Regions from separate parts of the Homo sapiens genome. Here regions 2 and 3 are each linked to region 1. Evidence: promoter capture Hi-C in 16 types of primary human blood cells and fetal thymus (Javierre and others, 2016). All regions are on one chromosome and are shown on one strand. Each heading gives the region's core, a stretch centred on a gene start or on the middle of the fragment in contact. The rest is flanking DNA. Distances are from core to core; before and after follow the strand shown.

The links. The method cuts DNA at HindIII sites, captures the fragments that hold promoters and counts their contacts. A CHiCAGO score of 5 or more calls a contact.
Region 2: a contact is called between a fragment that was not itself captured here and the fragment with the promoter of TENT5C-DT in region 1, in 2 of 17 cell types (naive B cells and total B cells). The highest score is 7.2, in naive B cells.
Region 3: a contact is called between a fragment that was not itself captured here and the fragment with the promoter of TENT5C-DT in region 1, in 8 of 17 cell types (naive B cells, total B cells, naive CD4 T cells and 5 more). The highest score is 15.2, in naive B cells.

The regions. Positions count from the first base shown.
Region 1 is chr1:117,603,955-117,607,591 of GRCh38, forward strand. It overlaps TENT5C-DT (TENT5C divergent transcript), which reads right to left and starts at 1,816. Exons shown (of 3, transcript NR_121626.1): 1 at 1,692-1,816; 2 at 835-982. TENT5C (terminal nucleotidyltransferase 5C) reads left to right here and starts at 2,094. Exons shown (of 2, transcript NM_017709.4): 1 at 2,094-2,199. RefSeq lists enhancers at 908-1,408, 1,409-1,909 and a silencer at 1,820-2,159. The HindIII fragment of the contact is 6,964 bases long and covers 1-3,478 here.
Region 2 is chr1:117,768,941-117,772,577 of GRCh38, forward strand. No RefSeq gene overlaps it. Among named protein-coding and RNA genes, the nearest start is that of GDAP2, 160 kb to the right of the region's middle. The HindIII fragment of the contact is 982 bases long and covers 1,402-2,383 here.
Region 3 is chr1:117,747,927-117,751,563 of GRCh38, forward strand. No RefSeq gene overlaps it. Among named protein-coding and RNA genes, the nearest start is that of TENT5C, 140 kb to the left of the region's middle. The HindIII fragment of the contact is 2,775 bases long and covers 446-3,220 here.

The sequences.
Region 1 (3,637 bases), core at 566-3,065:
TGATCATCAAAAAATGCAATTTTAAATCACAATGAAATACATATCCCCCCCCTTTTTAAATTAAAAAGACTGAAAATACCAATACTGGCAAAGATGTGAAACAACCGGAAATCTCATATCACTGGTTGGAACCTAAATTGTTATACGAATTTAAAAACTGGCAGTGTATTTAAAGTTTAATATGTGAACACTCTATGAACCAGGAATCCAATCCTAGGTATATATATATATCCAACATAAATGAATGCTATGTCCACCAAAAGACATGTGTAAGAATGTCTGCAGCAGCTTCATCAAAGGCAGAAACATGAAGCAACTCAAATGTCCACCAACAGTAGGATGAGTACACAAATCGTTGAATATTTATATAATGAAGTAATACACAGTAGTGAAAAAGAATGGACCATTGTTACACACAACAATATGGATGAATCTCATAGACGCACTGTTGGGCAAGAGAAGCCAGACATAAAATTGTACGTGTTATGTATTTCATCCATAGCAAGTTCAAATATTGGTAAAACTAATCTATGGTGATAGAGGTTAAAATAGTGGTAATCCTTGTCGGATACTGAATGGGAAGGGGCATGAATGAGCTGGAAAGGTTCCACATCTTGATATGGATGGCAGTTACATGGGTATGCATATGTAAAAAATTATCATTCTGGACACTTTTGATTTGTGCGCTTTACTGAATGTTATACCTCAAAAACAAAAAGTAAAACAAAAAATCAGATCATATGTCTTGATTTCGCGTCTAACAATAGGATCACTGGCTTTCCCTATAAACACTCATATTGATGTCCTATCGCATTAAAGTTCCTGGATACTCACTCTCCTCTCCCTCGCTGGGAAAGACATATTTGAGAACTCTTCATAGTCTGACAGACAGGAGAACCACACTTATTTCAGGCAGGGTTGGAAGAGTAGGGCGGAGGAGATGTAAATACTGCATCTGGGAAGTAATCTTTTCCCCCAGCACCTAGTAAACGATCAATACAAGTACAATAATGTCTATTGATAAATAACATTGTCCAACATTGGCTACTATCTGATACATACAGCATTTGCCACACACTTTCTAACAGGCACTAGGCAATGCACTAATTGTTTCCCACGTATTTTCTTAATACTTATATAATTCTACAGAGCTGTCCCATTGTTAGTCTTGTCCTACAGATAGGAGACGCAGGTTGTTGGAGGGTTGGTTCAGTTACTTGCCTAAGGCCTTACAGAAAGTTTAAGTGGTGCATGGAGATCTCAACTCAGATTAGTCTGAATTCAGAACCTGGGCTGTAAACCACTCGCTATGTTATGAATGGATGGTGTCCAAGCCCTGCCTGCATGTTATATAACACACTGGACCAAGTGCTGTGGCATTCCGAATGGGGCCGAAGCGGCTGCGGCTGCCGACATTGGCGATGGACTCCCCGAGGCCCTTCGTCCCACTAACTGCACACAGGTGGTCCCCGGGGCCAGAGAGCCGCCGGCGCTCTCTCCCCGAAGACCACGCCTTCGCCTCCAGCCAGTTTGCTTGGGGAATCAGAAAGGTGCCCAGGGCCCAGAAACCATTAAGTTTTTTCCGACTTCAAAAACACACACCGGAGGTAGGCGTGGGCGTTACCCGCCTCACTCCTGGGGGCAGGGAGAACCAACGCGAAAATCCCCAGAGAGGCGGAAGAAAAACCTGCCTGCGAGAGAATAGGATGGAGATGGGAAAAGCCTGGGGAAGAGAGAGTTATGCGGCAGGAATAGCAGAAAAGCGTACTAAGCAAAAAGAAAGGTGTCCCACTAACTCCGAAGTTAAGTGGGTGTCGACGCAGCCCCCTCTATTGCGCTTGCGCAGTGCTGCCTCCCTGAGCACCCCGCCCCTTCCCGCCGCTGAGGATTTACTCGTCTCTTGGCAACCATTCACCCGAAGAGCCAATCAGAGGGCAGCCCTCGCCCCGCCCCTGCCGTCAGGGCCGGGCGGAAGGGTCCCGAGGGGACTGGCTCCGCCACGCCCCGCCCCTGGCTCCCCCGGGAGGGCGGCTCAGGGGCGGGGACGGGGGCGTGGTCCCGCCGTATAAGAACGGAGGGGGCGGCGGCGGGACGGCTCACTCGGTGCCGCTGCCTAGGGGCTGTAGAGGTCGCGCCGCTCCTGCTGGGGCCTGCCCACGCCAAGGACCTGCCTCTGTCGCCTCCTCTTCTATTGCCCAGGTGAGTCCGCGACCCCCCTCCTCTAAAGGTGCGGCGATGCGGCAGCAGCCCCAGGGAGCCGCGAGCTCACTTAGTGGGGGTCCGCCCCCACTAAGTGGTGCTCAGGTCTTTGCCCAGCCTGGTAGGGGGCAGGCGGACCCGAGGGGAGCTGCGGACAGGTGCCGAGACCCGGTGCTCCTTTCCCCTCCTGCTCCCTCGAGGACCCCCGCCCCTGACACACCCGTCCCAAAGGGCCAGAAGAGACGCTCCGAAAGGGAGCTACAACTTTCCAGAGACCTGGGGCTTGGCAAACTCCAGCGAGTTCCTGCTCCGCGCGTCCTGCAGGCTGCGCGCTGGCCAGGCGCGGGCAGGGCGTCTGAAGAGTGTGTGATCGGCGCCTCCGCTCCTACCTGGATCAGACGGCGCCCCCCGCCACCCATGCCTCCCTTCCTGGCTTGCAGTCCCTCGGGCTCGCCCCGGCGCTCCCGCGGGCGCGCACACCTTCGCCGGCCCGCCGAGTGTGAATTCGAATTCGGCGGTTTCACTAGGCGCAGCTGGAGACGCAGCGGTCCGGGGCTTGGATCTGGTTGGGGAGGGGAGGGGCGCTTCCTAGGCTCATTGCCAAGTCCTGAGTTTTAAGGAGAAGGGCGGAGATCCTTAAATTTAATGCGCTCACATCAGACTGTGGACACCATGAGCAGCAAAGGGATCCAAGCCAGTGACTTGTGCGCTGCGCGTCTCTCAGAAACTTCTTGGGAATGCGGTGTCTGTGAAACCTGCTTCCTCTCCTTTTGAAAATGAAACTTGCTTTACTGCGTAGGTGAAAAGCCACGGCAAGTGGGTCGACTCGGACGGATACCGGTGCGGCTGCCCCGGGAGGTGTCGCAGTTCGGGGACTCCCTTCGCACTGGTCGCGAGGCAGGAGGGAGCAGGGTGGGAGGCGAGTCAGAGGAGGGTGACTTACCTGAAGAATACAGGTTGGTAGCCTGCACACCTGAACTCAACGCTGGCGGGCGAGAAAACCAAGCAGCGCTACCTCCAAGTAAGGGCGCTCCCCTGGAGAAATGAATGCCTGGCGAGCTTCTGGAGAACCCACTATTAGGGCTGGACCCTGCGGGAGGGATAGTGTCAGCTCCCTTCCCCTTCGCCCTTTTTTGTCCATAGGTAGGCTTTTGTAGGGCTCTAACCAGTTCCCTGGCTTAATTAAGTAGGGGCCTGCTTCCTTTTTAACATTTTTGCTTTCTTACGGAGATATAAAGTGCATACAAATGAAGTGCTTAAAATGCACTTATAGTAAGAAAGCTTTTATAAATACTATGTGCATAATTATTTGTATTGTGACAACTTGGTCTTCAGGTTACTTTGTAGGTGGGTTAGGAGACTGAACCAGCCCAGGAAATAAAGTTAGGGTGATTAGATCCTCCCAAAGTACACTTCTGGCTGGCTCAGCTGCCCTCTG
Region 2 (3,637 bases), core at 643-3,142, 170 kb after region 1:
CCGACCTTCTGAAGCCTACTTCTGTCAACTCATCGAAGTCATTCTTCGTCCAGCTTTGTTCCATCACTGGCAAGGAGCTGTGATTCTTTGGAGGAGAAGAGGTGCTCTGGTTTTTAGAATTTTCATCTTTTCTGCTCTGGTTTCTCCCCATCTTTGTGGTTTTATCTACCTTTGGTCTTTGATGTTGGTGACCTACAGAAGGGGTTTTGGTGTGGATGTCCTTTTTGTTGATGTTGATGCTATTCCTTTCTGTTTGTTAGTTTTCCTTCTAACAGGTCCCTCAGCTGCAGGTCTGTTGGAGTTTCCTGGAGGTCCACTCCAGACTCTGTTTTCCTGGGTATCACCAGCGGAGGCTGCAGAACAGCAAATATTGCTGCCTGATCCTTCCTCTGGAAGCTTCATCCCAAATGGGCACCCACCTGTATGAGTTGTCTGTTGGTCCCTACTGGGAGGTGTTTCCCAGTTACACTACACGGGGTCAGGCACCCACTTGAGTAGGCAGCCTGTCCATTCTCAGAGCTCAAATGCTCTGCTGGGAGAACCACTGCTCTCTTCAGAGCTGTCAGACAGGGAGGTTTAAGTCTGCAGAAGTTTCTGCTGACTTTTGTTCAGCTATGCCCTGCCCACTGAGGTGAAGTCTATAGAAGCAGTAGGCCTTGCAGAGCTGCAGTGGGCTCCACCCAGTTCAAGCTTCCCAACTACTTTGTTTACCTACTCAAGCCTCAGCAATGGCAGATGCCCCTCCCCCCACCTGGCTACAGCCTGGCAGGTTGATCTCAGGCTGCTGCACTAGCCGTGAGCAAGGCTCCATGGGTGTGGGACCCACTGAGCCAGGCATGAGAATCTCCTGGTCTGCTGGTTGCTAAGACTGTGGGAAAACGGCAGTATTTGGGTGGAAGTGTCCTGTTTTTCCAGGTACAGTCTGTCATAGCTTCCCTTGGCTAGGAAAGGGAAATCCCCTCACCCTTGCACTTCCTGGGTGAGGCAATGCCCTGCCCTGCTTCGGCTCGCCCTCTGTGGGTTGCACCCACTGTCCAACCAGTCCCAGTGAGATGAACCAGGTACCTCAGTTGGAAATGCAGAAATCACCTGTCTTCTGTGTTTATCATGTTGGGAGCTGCAGACTGGAGCTGTTCCTATTCAGCCATCTTGGAATGGAGTCCTACATCTTTTGAATGAAGAATTTAATCTACTCACTTTTAGAGTAATTATTAAGCAAGGACTTACCATTGCCATTTTGTTAATTGTTTTCTGACTGTTTTGCAGTTCTCTTGTTCCTTTTTTTCTTTCTTGCTGTCTTCCTTTGAGATTTGATAATGTATATCTAGTGGTGCACTTTGATTCTTTCCTCTTTATCCTTTGTGTATTGACTACAGATTTTTTTCCTTGTGATTATCATGAAGCTTACATAAAACATCTCATAGTTACAATAGTATATTTTAACTGGATAACAACTTAATTTCAATTGAATACAAAAACTCCACATTTTTACTCCCCCCAAACATTTTATGTTATTGAAGTAACAGATTCCATCTTATTATATTATGTGTTCATTAACAAATCATTGTAGATATAGTGATTTTGATACTTTTTTCGTTTAACTTTTATACTAGAGTTAAAGGTGTACTACTATTACAATATTACAATATTCTGAAAATGACTATATACTTCCCTTTACCAGTGAATTGTGTACTTTCATGTTGATAATGTCCTTTCATTTAAACTTGAAGAACTCCCTTTAGGATTTCTTGTAAGTCATGTCTAGTGGTGATTAATTCCCTCAGCTTTTGTTTGTCTGGGAAAGTCTTTATCTCTCATTTCTTAAGGATAGCTTTGCTACATATGATATTCTTGATTGGCAGTATTTTTTTCTTTCAACACTTACAATATATTATTCCAATATTTTCTGGCATGCAAGGATTCTGCTAGGAAATCTTCTGATAGTTTTATGGTGGTTCCCTTATGGTTGATAAGTCATTTCCAATTAATTAGTCCATCCCTCCCTCCCACTTTCCTTCCTTCCTATCTTCCTTCCTTCCTCTTGACTTTTGACAGTTTGATTACAATGTGGTTCAGTAAAGACCTCTTGATGTTCAGTCTATTTGAGGTTCTCTAGGCATCATGATCTGGATATTCATTTCCCCAAACATGGAAAGTTTTCTGTCATTATGTCTAAATATTTTTCTTCTACTTTCTCATTCTCTAATCCTTCTGGGACTCACATAATGTGTATATTGGTTTGCCTGATGGTGTCTCAGAGGTCGTGTAGACATTCCTCACTCTTTTTCATTCCTTTTTCTTTTCATTCCTCTAATTGAATAATTTCAAATGACCTGTCTTTAAGGTACTGATTCTTTCTTTTGCATGAGAGAGTCTACTGTTAAGCTTTCTATTGAATTTTTTAGTTCAGTCATTGTACTCTTCAGCTCCAGCATTTCTGTTTGGTTCTTTTTTATGGTTTCTATTTCTTTGTTAAGCTTCTAATTTTGCTCATGTATTTTTTTTTTATTTTTGTTTAGTCATCTATCTGTGTTCTCTTGCAGCTCTTTCAGCTTCTTTAAGATTACTTTTAATTTTTTGTCAAAGATTTCATGGGTCTCCATTTCTTTATGGTTTATTACTGGCACTTTATTAGTTTCCTTTGCTGCAGTCATGTTTGCCTAATTCATCATGATCTGTGTAGTCTTGCATTGGTGTCTATGCATTTGAAGAAGACACTTATTCCTGTCTTTATAAAACTGATTTCAGTAGGTAAAGATTTTTTCCTGCCGTGTTCCTGGATGAACTAACTCCAGGATTGTAGTTAGGTGGGGCTAGAGCCAGGTCTCATGGCTGTTTCCAGATTCACTGTCAGGTCTGTGGTTGGCAAGCCTGGTTACCAGGAACATGTTGAGGTATGGCTTCTTTGAGTCTCTAAATATGCTCCTGTTAGGTAGCTGGGCTGGTCTCTGGGTGATCAGGACTTCCTCTGAACTTCAGTAGAATGGAATTGAAGCCAGGTCACAGGACTGCTTCAGTAACCACAGTTGGATCCAAAGTTGTCAGGTCTGTTACCTGGTTGTTTTTTGGTGTGGCTTCCATTAGGTTCCTGAGCAGGTCTCTGGGTGGGCAAGACTGCCATGGACAATGATAGAGTGGGCTGAAGCCAGGTCATTTAACTGCTCCAGGGACTACAATCAGGTTCAAGTTTGGCAGGCTTGTTATGGGGAGCATGAATGGATGTGACTTCTCCTGGGTCCCTTGGTGGAAGGGGCTGGTGTCAGGACTGTGAACAAGGGGGGCTGGAGCTGAGTTCATAGAGGGATGGAGCTCCTTCAGCCCACAGCTGGAACTATGGCCAGTGGAATTGTCACCAATGTGCTGGCTTGCCTTCTCAAAGCAGCCCTCCCGAGTCTTGGGCGCCACCAGGGCTTTGCAACCTTCTGCCCAGATCCCCAAACTCCTACAAAGACACTTTGTCTATAAATAGCTGCCAAATATTTAAGTGGTTTTGTGTGTGTGTGTGTGTGTGTGTGTAGGGTGTGTGTGTAGGCTGGGGACCTCTATTTTGTCATCTTGCTGATGTCATCTAGTTTGTCTTTTAAGATTACTCTGGCTACTATATGGAAAATGGATTGGGAGGCCAGTTAGGATGCTA
Region 3 (3,637 bases), core at 583-3,082, 140 kb after region 1:
TTTCATCATTAACATAGCATTTCTATTCCCTTATTTGGATCTTCTCTATTGCCTTTTAATAAATTTTTGTGTTTTTTTTCCCACAAAGATCTTACACATGTGCCTTCTGTTTTTTATTATTGTGGTTGTTGCCACAATAGATATTAATTTTTAAAGAATTATTATTTCTATTTGGATTTAGTAGACAAATACAATAGACTTTTGTATATCATTTTTATACCCAGCAACTTTGCTAAATTTTCTTATTCTGGTAATTAGTAAATTACTCTCAATTTTACATGTAGACATTATGTCATCTGCAAATAATGACCAATTTGTTTCTTCTTTTAAAATTCTTATGCCTTTTATTTATTTTTCTTGTATTGTTTCACTGATTATGACCTCTAACATAATAGTGAACTAATGCAGCATTAGCAGGCATCTTTGTCTTATTCATGATTTTAAAAGCTTCCCATTTGATATGGTTTGGATCTGTATCCCTACCAAATCTCATGTTGAATTGTAATCCCCAATGTTGGAGGTGGGGCCTGGTGGGAGGTGATTGGATCATAGGGGTGGATTTCTCATGAATGGTTTGACACTATCCCCCTTAGTACTGTCCTCACAATAGTCAGTGAGTTCTCATGAGATCTGGTTGTTTAAAAGTGTGTAGCATCTTCCCCCTACTTGCTCTTTCTCCCACCATGTGAGATGCCTTGCTCTCCCTTTGCCTTCCACCATGATTTTAAGTTTCCTGAGGCCTCCCCGAAAACTGAGCAGATGCCAGCATCATGCTTCCTGTACAGCCTGCAAAACCTTGAGTCAAGTAAACCTCTTTTCTTTATTAATTACCCAGCCTCAGGTCTTTCTGTGTAGCAATGTGAGAACGGTCTAATACTCCATTCATTTTCTCCCACCTCCACATCTTACTCCCCTGAAACTACTCTTGCGGGCCAGACGTGGTGGCTCACACCTGTAATCACAGCACTTTGGGAGGCCAAGGCGGGTGGATCACAAGGTCAGGAGTTTGAGACCAGCCTGGCCAACGTGGTGAAACCCCATCTCTACTAAAAATACAAAAAATTAGCTGGACGTGGTGGCAGGCACCTGTAATTCCAGCTACTCAAGAGGCTGAGGCAGGAGAATCACTTGAATCCTGGAGGTGGAGGTTACAGTGAGCTGAGACTGTGCCATTGCACTCCAGCGTGAGCAACAGAGTGAGACTCCATCTCGAAGAAAAAGAAAGAAAGAAAGAAAGAAAGAAAGAAAGAAAGAAAGAAAGAAAGAAAGAAAGAAAAGAAAGAAAGAAACTACTCTTGTGGAGGTTATCAATGACCTCTAGGTTGCTAAGTTCAACAGACACTTGAAAATGATAGTTTTGTTTGATCTCAGTTGCATTTGACATCATTGATCACCTCTATTATTAAATATTCTCTTCTTGGCTTTCCAATACCAAACTCTGATTCTATAGTCTCTGATTGCTTCTTCCCAGATATTTTTTGCTTAACATTTATCTTTATCTTAAATGTTGAAGCTCCCTAGGGATCCATCCTGGGTTTCTTCTTTTATGCTACACCATTCTTAATTGAGATTATCCATTCCATGTCTCTATATTGACATCAGTTGATCATACACACACACGCGTGCGCGCACACACACATATATACACATCTGCCAACTTCACATTTTGTTTAGATGTCTCATAGACATCTCAAACTTAACATGGTCAAAATTTCTTCCTCAAATGGAATTCTCCTATTGTCTCCCCACCTCAGTAAATGGAACCTTCATCCACTCAGTTACTTGTAAATCTGGGTATCGTCTTATCTCCTTCTTCTCTTTCATCCCCCACATCCAATCTATTACCAAGTATTATTTATTAAAACATCGAGATATATCTCATATGCACCTTCCTCTTCATGTCTGTTTAGTTTAAACCACCATTCTTTCTTGCCTACCCTATAGCCATAGCCTTCTAACCAGTGTCCTTTAACTTTTTATTTTCTCAAAATCCCTTTAACAAACAAGTTTAAAGTGATAGTTTAAGATTACAAACCAGATCATGTTGTTCCTCAGTATAAGACTCTTCAATGATCTCCCACTGCACTAGGAGTAAAATCCCAAACCTTAGTATGGCCTGCGAGAACCTTCCTGCTATGACTTCTTCCTTCTCTGCCAGCTTTACCTGTGCTGCTCATCTCCTCACTCGCTGTCCTCTAGTCACTTGAGCCTTCTTACAGTCCTCTGAGAGGTCCAGTTTTTCCTGCCTAAAATCTTTGCACTTATAAACTCCAAGAGGGCAGGGACTGTATCTTCTTGCGCTCAATTATATATCCATGTTCAGGCATGTGTAAGTACTCAATAAATACATGCTACATAAATGAATGATTTTTTTAAGTTTAGAATGTTCTTCCCCAACCTGGCTAAATCCTGTTGTTCTTTTAGGTCTCATGTTATTTTAAATGTCACTTCCTCAAACAAGTCTTTTGCCTCCCCTCACCTCATCCTACCCTTCCTTCTTTAAGGAACCACCATTCCTAGCTATGGGGATAGGAACTGATTTGGAGTGGGCCAAGTTCAAGTATCCTATTCCTATGATTCATCTAATTCTTCTCTGATTTTCCTACCAGAAGATGAAAAGGAAGACACTTTTGTCCTTGGACCAGAGAGCCACTCAGCTATGAAACATGTTCTCTGATGTGTGGAGAAAGTTTGTCTGCAGTAGGAGAGAATGAGGCCAACTCAGAGAGTCATGGAGGGGAGAAACGGGGGGAGAGAGAGAGTTCTGACAGTGTGCCAGTCTCTGAATCTTATCCATTTTTTTTTCTCTCTCTCTCTTTTTCTTTTTCTTTTTTTTTTAATTTGAGACAGTCTGTCGCCTAGGCTGGAGTGCAGTGGCGCAATCTCTACTCACTGCAACCTCAGCCTCCCGGGTTCAAGCAATTCTCCTACCTCAGCCTCCTGAGTAGCTGGGATTACAGTAGTGCACCACCACACCCTGCTAATTTTTGTGTTTGTAGTGGAGATGAGGTTTCACCGTGTTGGCCAGGCTGGTCTAGGCTCCTGACCTCAAGCGATCCGCCCACCTTGGCCTCCCAAAGTGTTGGGATTACAAGCGTGAGCCCCTGCACCTGGCCTTATCATCCACTCTTGCCGCCTTCTCAAAGCTGGGATTGCCACCTCTTCTTTGCTTCTATGAACCACAGCAATATCTTTTCAATACATTCTTTCTTTTTGCTTAAGCTTGTTCAGATTGGGTTTCTGTTATTTGTAATTGAAAGATTTCCGGACTAATATACATTCCTTGACCTCCCAATATAAATCAGTTCCTCTTGTCATAGTCCTTAAAATGCTCTATGCTTTTCCTTCATAACACTTATCAGAACTTATGTTTGTATATTCATTCACTGAACATCTATCTCCTCATAGATGTTAGACACCGTGTGTATTTTGTTCACTACTCTTTATCTGGCTCACAGTGTAGTGCTTTACCCATGGCAAGCACTCAATATATGTTTGCTGAATTGATGAGTAAATAAATGACCCTGTAGTTGACTAGATATGAAGAGGGGGCAAAAAAGGGAGGAGGCTTAGGATGACTTCACATTTTTCTGGCTTTGCCAAGAGAAGGGGGAATGATATCATTGACTTGTATTGG